Linked DNA regions of Homo sapiens: region 1 is linked to region 2. Evidence: promoter capture Hi-C in 16 types of primary human blood cells and fetal thymus (Javierre and others, 2016). All regions are on one chromosome and are shown on one strand. The core of a region is centred on a gene start or on the middle of the fragment in contact, and the rest is flanking DNA. Distances in the headings are between cores, read along the strand shown. Region 1 overlaps KCNAB1 (potassium voltage-gated channel subfamily A regulatory beta subunit 1). Region 2 holds the start of LEKR1 (leucine, glutamate and lysine rich 1).

Region 1 (5,156 bases), core at 789-3,288, 670 kb before region 2:
ATATTTTAATCTACCATTGTATTCTAATTTTGTCAGCTGACACAATAATGCTCTTTGTGGCATTTTTTTACTCCAGTTGTACAGGATCAGTATTGGATGGCAATATTTTGTTGTCATATCTTTTAGGTCTCCTTCAATCTGGAACAGTTCAGGAGAAATTAATTTTAGTATAGGAAGGAGGTCAAAGGAAAGACTATGACTAATTGCAAGTCCGCCTTGGGTTGGGAGGTGGCGCTGTGGTGCCACACAATTGTTATGCCTGCAGGAAGGTCTCCTGGATATTGTTACCGTGTCCCTGACAACGACTGTGTCTCCCACAGCTACCCAGCGAGGGTTACCACGTTTTCTTCTGGAACTTTAGGCCCAAAGCTGAGGGATCTCATAGGCCTGCTGACCTTATTAGCCTACATAAATCCGGTCCCCTGTGTCCCTGTGCTCAGCACATCCCCTGAGGGTGGGTGTTAGTGGTAGGTGTGTTAAAAGGGAGTCACCAGGCGTTAAGAGGGGTAAGGCCCTCTGAGCACTGATGGACCACAGACACGGTTACCTCAGGATTGTCTAGCCCCTAAGTCAGGTGCCCATAAATGAGCTGGGTTAGGAAACCATCCCAAGAGGCTGAAGTGGCAGCCGAAGGAGAGGCCTGATACCAGCTGGATTCAGAGTGACGGGAGTATGGATTCTGGCCTTAGCTTCTGGTGAACCCACTGTGGGAGGGGTGGGAGCTTTCAGAAAGATGCAGGTTCTCAATGGGCTAGATGGAACATTTTTAGACAATGGATTTTGACCCAATTGTCTTCTGTCATTTTCTCCTTCATGATATTCCTCTTAATTTGCTAAGGCAGATGAGATAGAAGCTCTGACAATTGTAGAGTGTGGGTGTAAAATGTGCAGCTCATTAAGTATCCAAGCTCTCCGTTTAGCATTTGAAGGGTTTGTAACAGGTCAGTGATTCACCCTGCTTTTGGAATTTTACGGCACTCTATAACTCAGTGCATAGTGACAATACATGCCTCTAGAAGCTAGTTACGGTTTCAAAACAGAGCTATGATTACTTCCAGAGATGACCATTGTATAAGATGGGCACCTTTATACGTAACTTCCCAAAAGGTTAACTCTCGTTGTAACTTCTTTGTAACATTCCATGCTAGCACTTTCTTCCTCTACCTCTATTTTTCCTTTTGGCGCACTTATTTGTTTATTTCTGTATTGTCTGTCTCTCTCACTGGAATGTGAATTCCAAAAGGGCAGGGATTTTATCTGTATAGTTAATTACTGCATTCCCAGAATCTGACATCTAGTGTAGAGCTCAATAAATATTTGCTGAATAAATAAATTATTAAGCAGGAGTCTAACAAATAAACCTTCAATGTTCACTGGAGGACAAGCCGCTGGATATCAGTCACAGGGCACCACTTCACCAGGATCCATAGTCTCCCCAGCGCTCACTTCCTAACTTTCTCTCTTTACCAAAAATCCAAGTATCCTTATTTGAGATAGTGATACTTGAGGATGACATTGTTCTCGTAGGAAATAGGTCCTTAAATCTTGGATTTTAAGATGCTTTGAGGTGACCATATCATGCTCATCATGGCATAGCCCACTGTATGTTTGTTTCTTCTGAGATATCCATTTTGTTTAACCTTAATTTGCTCATTTACTTCAATCATTCATTAAGTTTGTGATGATTAATTTTGTGTCAGTTTGACTGGGCCACAGGGTGCCCAGACATTTGGTCAAACACTATTCTGTGTGTGTCTGTGAAGGTGTTTTTGCATGAAATTAACATTGGAATTGGTGGACTGAGTAAAGCAGACTGCCCTCCCCACTGTGGTTGGGCGTCATCCAGTCATTTGAAGTTGAACAAAAACGCTGACCTCTCACAAGTAGGAGGGTATTCCTTCTGCCTGATTGTTGGATCTGAGACATCGGTCTATTTCTGCTTTCAGAGTTGAACTGAAACATCAGCTCTTCTTGAGTCAAGTCTTGAGCCTTCCGGCTTTTGGGTCCAAACTTACACCATTGACCCACCTGAATCTCAGGCCTTCAGATTTGGATCAGAATTACACTATTGGCTCTCTTGCATCTCCAACTTGCCAACTGCTATTCTTGGGAGTTCTCAGCCTCCACAGTTGCATGAGCTAGTTCCTTATAATCAATCAATTAATCAGTCAATCCCTATCTATCCATTTATCTATGAATTTATCCATCTCCTGTTAGTTGTGTTTATCTGGAAAACTCTAAGTAACATAGATTTCTCATTGTACTTTCCTCCAAAAAAGTTCTCCATGTGTTGCTGCCCAGGCCTATTCATAGTGGGGCCTTGAGTTACCTTGACCAGAATGAGACACTCGTTGCTTTCACTCAGTGTGAATTCCTGTTTCCACTTAGAGGTGGTGCTTTCTGAGGGAGGTTTAGCTGATTACAGTCTGACTAAGGTCACCAGAAGTAGTGCAGATAGTAGTGCAGATGTCTAACACACTCATATTACAGAGCCATGGGCCTCTCCTTCTCCACTCCTCTCACCACCAGCTAGCTCTTCTTTCCCTTTCTACCAGTTGTCCCTCAATCCCACTGGCAAGTCCTCTTTAAGTTTACTCTTTTCCTCATTTCGCCTTTCCATCTTATTACAGGAGGGGTCATCATCTCATTGTAGCAGCCAGTTGTCATCCTCCGAACTATGGGGGACAAGTGTGGAGAGCTAGCTTACCTGTTGGGATTCCTAGCTGACTCGTCCTCCTAGATAAATGCGCCAGAGGATTTTCTGTCTATTCAGTAATTGTGGATGAGTGTGGGTTCTGGTTAGACTTCTTGTTCTTGGTATAGATCAGACTTTCCCATCAACTATTTGACCTACAACTGAAACACTCTTTCACTGGTAATTAATAGTTGCAGGCTGGTCCTTGGTGGTATCATCAGATCCATGGGTTTTCTTACTTAAGTCTGCCCTACTCTACCACTTTGGCAAGACCCTGGCCCATTTGACTCAGCAAAGGTAGTCAGTGCTGCTGGGACTGGGCAATGGCAGTGGAGGGGTCATGCGTTTCTACTTCAGAGGGTTGGTTACCTGCAGGAGCCTGGGTGAGACTCATTACAGTGGACAGAATCCAGCTATCTTCTTTCTGCCCCTTCTTCACAGGTACCTCTCCAAGGGCCTTCCATTTCTGACCTAATGTTCACCACTTCTTGGGTTCTGGATCCTGTATGGGTTAAATATTTTCCCTAATATGTCTCATGACTGTCTCATTTAAATTGTTGGATAATCCAAAACATATTCTTATACAAGATGGAAAAACAGGTTCATGCAGCCAAATTTACTAATACAAATTATATGATACATTGGTGACACTCTTTACAAAGCTATTTTGTATGACCACTAGTCAAGCCTCGCTGTTTTTGGTACACTATCTATTTTTACTGAACCATCTACCTATCCCCCCTGCCCTGCCACCACCCCTCACACAGATTCATCCAACAGCTCTCCATTGAGTGCTCACCTTGAGTTATGCACAATTCCAGGCATTGGAGATACAGCAGTGAACACTTAGGCTAAGTTCTCTGCTTTTTAAAGGATTTAATTCTAGTGGGGACGTGCCAGTTAATGAACAAAAATAAATAAATAAAATTTATAATACTTTAGAAGCATAAATTCTCTGGAGAAACACAAAGCACAGAAGGAGGATGAGTATTTGTGACAGGGAGCAGTTGCCATTTTAAATAACATAGCCAAGGAAGGCCTCACTGAGAAGACAGCATTTGAATAAGTACCTGAAGGAGGTAGAAATGACAATCATTGAAGTTTCCGGGGTAAAGAGTATTATAGACAGAAGGAACAGTATATGCAAAAGCCCAGTGTGAAAGTCTGTAGAAAGAAACAAAAACAGCCAGTGTGTCAAGGGCAGAGTGAATGAATGGTAGAATAGTAAGAAATGATGTCAAGAAGGTAAAGGGGAGAATTGAAAGTTCAGGAGGTCCTCAAGAATGCTCTCAGGTTCAGTGATTCACTAGAAGGACTCACAGAACTCAGCAAAGTCATTATGCTCATGGTCGTGGTTTATTACAGCAAAAAGATACAGATTAAAATTAGCATCAGGAAGAGGTACCTAGGGTTGGGTCCAGGAGAACCAGGAATGGAGCTTCCAATTGTCCTTTCCCACTGGAGTTGTGTGGATAGTGCTTATTTCTCTCAGGAACTGGGAAGCTTACCTGAACCTTGGTGTCCAGAGTTTTTATTTGGGTTTGGCCATGTAGACACGGCTGACTACCTGTGTGTTTGACCTTAGTCTCTGGCCCCTCTGGAGTTCAGGCTGATACAATGTGGCCCAAGACTCCCACCATAAATTAAATACTTAGCCTAGACTATCTCGTAGGGCCTTAGGCCCCCAGATAAACAAAGACATTTTTATTGGGTAGGGCATTCCAAGGGCTTAGAGGTTAACTCCCAGGAGTTGGGGGCAAGGAGCTAGATTTTTCTTTGGGCAAGATTAATTCTTTACTGCACAATAGGCACATTGTACAAAAATGTGTAGGCCATTTTAAAGGTGGTGGCTTCTAGTCTGAGTGAGATGGAAGCTTTTGTGAATACTGATCAAGGGTGTGACATGATTTGAATTATTTTTTAAAAGGATTGTCTGAATGCTATGTTGGAAAATAGGCTGAAAAGTAGAAGTAGGGTTACTGGTTAAGAAGTTACCATAATTGCCCAGGAAGGAGGTAACAGCAGCTTAAACCAGAATGGAAATGGTGAGAAGTAGTTGGATTCTGGAACTGTTATAAAAGTAGCATCAGGAGGATTTGAAAAATAAATGGATATGATATGCAATAAAGGGAATACTTAAAGATGACTTTAAGCTTCTCAGCTCAGGCAATTGGGACCAACAAGTTGCCCTTAAATTAGATGAGAAAGATTTCAGGGGAGTGGATCTGGAGGGAAGAAGAGTAGGAACTTACTTTTTAGACAGGTTGGGTCTAAATGCCTATTAGAGAACAGTGTCAAGTTGATAAAAGTTTGAAGTTCATGGGAGTGGTATGGACTGGAGATTCATGCTCAAAATATAAATATAAATATATAAATCTTGGAGTCATCAGTATATTGCGAGAACATAAAGCCATGAGATAAGCAAGTAAGTGTAGAGAGAGATTATAACAAAAGCCCCAGG
Region 2 (5,427 bases), core at 1,175-3,674:
GCTACGCTTTAAAAAATGTCATTCATCACAACTTAACTCTTATCCTTTGAAATTCTTACTGGGGTCTACTGCTTTCCAACTTTCTTTTTCTTTGTTTTCTTTTTTTAAGAGACAGGGTCGGGCTCTGTCACCTAGACTGGAGTGCAGTGGCCAGATCATAGACTGCAGCCTCAAATTCCTGGGCTCAAGTGATCCTCTCACCTAGGCCTTTCTGAGTAAAGACTACAGGTGTGTGTCACCACACCATGCTAATTTTTTTTTTTTTTATAGTGACAGAGTCTCACTATATTGCCCAGGCCAGTCTCAAACTCCTGGCTTCAAGAGATCCTCCTGCCTCAGCCTGCCAAAGCTCTGGGATTATAGGCATGAACCACCACGCCCAGCCCAACTTTCTATGATAATGAAAATGTTCAGTATCTATGGTGTATCATACATTACCTACATGACTACTGAGTACTTAAAATATGGCTAATGCAATATAGCAATGGAATTTTTAAACATACTTCATTTTAGTGAAATTAGTTACATGAGGCCACCTTACTGGACAGTGCAGGTCTAAGGGAAATTTACAGTGGAAAGGAAATTGGTCTCAAAGGCAATATGCAGACAAATAAACACAGATGAAATTAAACCAAGGAGTGAACTGCAGCCTTTGAGCTGGATTTTCTCCCATCCTTAAAGTGTTGCCTTTCCTTATCCTATAAACAAAGTACTCAATAAAGAAAACTAGCCTCAGAACAGAGTGATCTTGCATTAGGTGTGCAAATTCCTGTCCCAGATAGGTACCAGTTTTGGTGCCCTGTATCTAAACTTCCATTATCACAAAATGAGAGCAGTCCTACCCTCACTATCTCTCAGATAAATATGACGAGGATGAATAGCTCTGAAAGTTATTTGGGCTTCTCATAAGCATGTTATAGTTGACCACTTGGTTGACTGTCCTCTAGGCCTCTTAATCCTTTCTTCTTTGAGGGAGTGGAAACAGAAAATCAAGGGTAGGCATTGGGGCAAAAATATCAGTCAGGTTAAATGTACAAGATACATCTACTAGACTTTTTTTTTTTTTTTTTTTTTTGAGACTGAGTCTTGGTCTGTCGCCCAGGCTGGAGTGCAGTGGCATTATCTCGGCTCAGGGTAAGCTCTGCCTCCCAGGTTCACGCCATTCTCCTGCCTCAGCCTCCCGAGTAGCCCAAGTAGCTGGGACTACAGGCGCCCGCCACCACGCCCGGCTACTTTTTTGTATTTTTAGTAGAGACGGGGTTTCACCGTGTTAGCCAGGATGATCTCGATCTCCTGACCTTGTGATCTGCCCGCCTTGGCCTCCCAAAGTGCTGGAATTACAGGCCCGAGCCACCGCGCCCAGCCACATCTACTAGACTTTTTAGTGCCAAGGAACAAGGCACTAGTGTTCAGTACTTCCTGGTGTCATTAATTAGTAGTTATCAATAAGCAGTTTGGTGTACCGATACTGCTCTGCGTCATTTAATCACTTCTCTAAATCTATAGGTTCAATTAATTTTCTTTGTATTTACTTAATCTTATTTTATTCAATAGCAAACCAGTCTCTTTGCCTGCTACAGAGCCATCGATGTTTTCTTTGGTTCTTGGAAGAACTGTACTTCGACCTTATATAATCCTCAGAAAGGCAAGATCTGGACTACGAATGAGTCACCTGCTAATTACACCAATGGCTGCTCCTGCCTTGACCAGTCACAGAGTATCACCCTATCTCGGTATGCTGCTCTGCTTGTCGCGTAGTAGGTCTATAAATACTTGTTTTATGAATGAATGTATGAACAAAGGGAAGTTAGTCACGTGTAAGGGTGGGTAGCCTGCGATAAATAAAGTGTAGACTAGGAGGTCTCAAAATACTTTTTGAACTAAGCCCTTAATCTTCACTACTTTGGACTAGAATGGAAATGTCACCAACGCCTTCCCAATTAATTTGTCCTGGCTGTAATGACTGAAACCAGAACTTCCCTTTACACCCATGACCTCTACAGGCATCTCTTTTTCCTCTGCTCAAGAACAGTAACTGCTCACTGCTGTGTCTACCACATAGGCCCCAGAGCAAGGGGTGATAGGTAGGGCTATAGGCTCCCGACTCCCGACTCCCGGCAGTGCCTCTCTCCAACCCCCCACGAGGCTGGGACAGCTCCCTCCATCTCAGCAGTCGCTACCAAGCACCCGACCCACTCTCGCCCACCTCATCCCTCGATCCCCTTCCCTCCCTCTCACAGCATTCCGCGTAAGACTAGCCCAGCCTTCCGAGCCCCACCACCAGTTTTCCCACTTCCGCCCGGCGCGTGAGACCCTGGGCGGTGCAGGGGAGCGTTGACGACAGACGTGGGCCGTGACGTCGCCGCGCCCTGACGTCCAGCCGACTGGCGGCGCGGTCGCCCGGGAGACCGGGAAAGCCGTTTCACACCCGTCCTAGTCGAAGTCGAGGTGAGGGACGATGGCTTTCCTCAGCCTGGGATGACCCGGTCCTCCAAATGCAGTTCCGGAGTGGAGGCGTGCTCGCACCCGGGGAGAGAGCCAGAAAGCTGAGCCGCGGCGCCCCAGCGAGAGCACGAGGCCCCGGGTCTGGACTCCGCCACCACGCTCCTCTGCGGCCCCTTCCTGGTGTCTGCCAGCCCGCGGGGCCCAGGCGCGGTCCGCCTTCCTCCCAGCCCCGGGGAACGCGCGGCTCTGCTTCCTCACCCCCGCACCCTCCTCCTCCTCCTCTTCCGGCCACTGCAGGTCCAGGGGGAACGGGGTTAGAAAGGGACAGATTTGAAAGCCATTCCAGCAGTTTTGTCTGGCCTTGCGGTTGGTTTCTGTGTGGAAGAGCCTGCCGCTTCAGGAAAGTCTTAGGATGTGAACTCCCGCCTTCACCTGCCCCTGACCTGCTCGTTGTGGGTGATTCACGCCATGGGAATGGTTCTTTACGTAAGGGCTTGAAAGCTGAACGTGAGTTAATGGCCTGACGTGACACTAGTGTGAGAAACGGAATTGGAAACGAACAAGGACGTGTCTGCATTTTAAAAAATGTCTTTTCGGTGATCTTGTTAGAGAGGAGGTTCACAAACACCCACGTAGCTGCAGCCACTTATCACTGCACCTCTTGCCAAAGTGCGGTCCACATACGTGCAATGAGAAAGGATTAAAGGGACTTGTTTGATAACACACGCAAAACTATGTAAGACTAAATTTAAAAAATTACAGATTTTCCCTGTTGCCAAAAGGGAAAGACCCTTCTTTTTTCTTGAGAAACTTAGTATTTGTGAATGCTTCCTCTATTTAATATGTATGCAAATGTTTTTAAAGACCTAGGAATGCTTTTCTTGAGGACCTGGAAGCCATTTCTTTAAAATGTAAACATCAAGGAAGATAGGGCCCCAGTCTCCTTGTCACTTTGGGAGTTTAACCTAGGTGCGTTATTCCTAATTGTAAACACCTGTTTCGTTATGGAGCTGTGCATTACTTAGGAGGAAAGCCGTTAGCTAACACAGGTGGTTACCCCAATTACCAGATGAATTAAAGAGGAAATATAAAAGAATGTATAGAACACTATGTTAAGCCCTCTTACATGAGGACACGTTACCAGTTTCCTTGAGAATGTGTAATGGATTGTGTCTCCTTGGCTGTATAAAAGAGGGATTTCCTTCTCTCTTTGTAACCTCATTAGCAGATTAGCCGTGATGTGCATCAAAGTCTAGTTGAATGCCTAATAAAATTGTTGTCTTTCTGCATTGTGGAGCATTTTCTGGGTTGGCAGGACTTTTAATTTTTAGTTTCCCCCCGATAATCAGAACCTGCCAATTCCTCCCCTTCTTATGCTAAGGCCATAAAGTTGGAATAGATTCACAGACAATGAAGGCACTACACAAAAACTGTTCTACTGGTGCTTTGTTTATACTGTCATTTAGATCCGTGCTCTCAGATAACTTTATGGGTGAAATTTTAAAAGGATGTTTAGATGGTAATTTTTTGGAAAATTCTCCCAATAGAGTTGAAGTTACTATTTCATTTTACTGATGGCAAATCCACCATTAAATGACAGAAATGAGAATAATGAGCCTTCTGGGCTCTTGCCACATGATTATGACAATCTGCCAAACATCAGATTATGTTTGGGCTTATGTTGACATGGTTAATGGTACCTCCATTGCAGACCTCAGTTAACTTTACCACACATGTCATATTATGTTTTATGTGGGAAGACATAAAGCTCATTAGTTTTTGGTTTTAAACAGCAACTCACTGAAATGAGTCTTTGTGCTAACACAGGGAACAAGGAATCTTCTCTTCCACTAGTGGTTGCACCATTTACAAAGATAATGCCACTATAGGACTTTTTGACAACTACGGTTTCCCTGCTACCTTGCTGTATGGCCGGGGTTGCTCTCTCTGATAGAGTACTTTGCTTCTCCAGTCTCTTGTCAAAATCCTGCCCTGATTGAATACAAGCAACCTCAGGAAGCCTTCACTAACTCCCACCTCTCATCTGAAACATAAGATCTTTTCCTTTCTTGAACTCTTAGACTGCTCTTGTCTATGCCTTCTTCCCTGCTATGGAATTGTGCCTGTATCATCTGACTCTGCTGCCACTGCCCTCGCCCTTCTCCTGACTTCTTAGATATGTATAAACAGCCCTTACTCGTGAGGGAAGGATTTAAAAAAAAAAACAAAAAACCCAAAGTGCTCCTCCATTTATCCTCTGGTTTTATGAAAGTAGTGACTGACCTTTATATTGAATGGCTTTTATTAGAAAAAGAAAATCTGTTAAAAGTAAAATATCTGCATAAAATTATATAAATGTCCATCTTAGATAAAATTGGCACTTGGCTTCTTATTTTTTGATCACTCTTCTGTTCAGTGTTTGCATATCATATTTAATATGGTATCTCTAAATGCTCTTTTTCTGTATTTCATCATTTAATCCAGCATTCATGCCACAATTGCTTTTTTCATCTGCTAAAATACTATATTTTCATACTTTTTCTAGCAGCATTTCAGAAAAATATTTGATTTTTAAAATACACTGAAATGTGTATTTAAAATTTTAGTCATTATGTATTTGAAAAACAATTAGTAGTAAATCACAACAGAAATTATTAGACTATAAAGTTCTAACAAAAGAGAAAATATTCTTTCTAACTTAGCAGTCTCTATAGTTCTCTCCTGTTCTATTGGCCCAATAACTAACGGAGAAAACCCTAACTGTACCTTCTAACATTGAGCTGATGAAATAAGCATCTGTTGAAACAGTTATCACCATTCATCCCCAAATACTTCTAGGAGTTTATAAAGCATCTTAATTTGAATGTTCTCTACATTATTTCTGTTCTGACTGTTGCCATCAATGTTCTTAGATTTCCTTTGGCTTCAAAGCTCTCTCACCATATTTTGGGAAGTTATGGATCATCACATTCCCATGCATGC

The links. Contacts are between HindIII fragments. The CHiCAGO score rates a contact against its expected background, and 5 or more counts as called.
Region 1: a fragment that was not itself captured here is called in contact with the fragment with the promoter of LEKR1 in region 2 in 2 of 17 cell types (total CD4 T cells and total B cells); the score reaches 7.8 in total CD4 T cells.

Annotation. Positions count from the first base shown.
Region 1 is chr3:156,151,774-156,156,929 of GRCh38, forward strand. The region is part of intron 1 of KCNAB1 (potassium voltage-gated channel subfamily A regulatory beta subunit 1); the gene reads left to right. Among named protein-coding and RNA genes, the nearest start is that of KCNAB1, 34 kb to the left of the region's middle. The HindIII fragment of the contact is 4,316 bases long and covers 1-4,196 here.
Region 2 is chr3:156,823,929-156,829,355 of GRCh38, forward strand. It overlaps LEKR1 (leucine, glutamate and lysine rich 1), which reads left to right and starts at 2,425. Exons shown (of 13, transcript NM_001004316.3): 1 at 2,425-2,448; 2 at 5,358-5,427. The coding sequence starts at 5,402. RefSeq lists an enhancer at 2,898-2,957 and a silencer at 3,272-3,566. The HindIII fragment of the contact is 11,302 bases long and covers 1-5,427 here.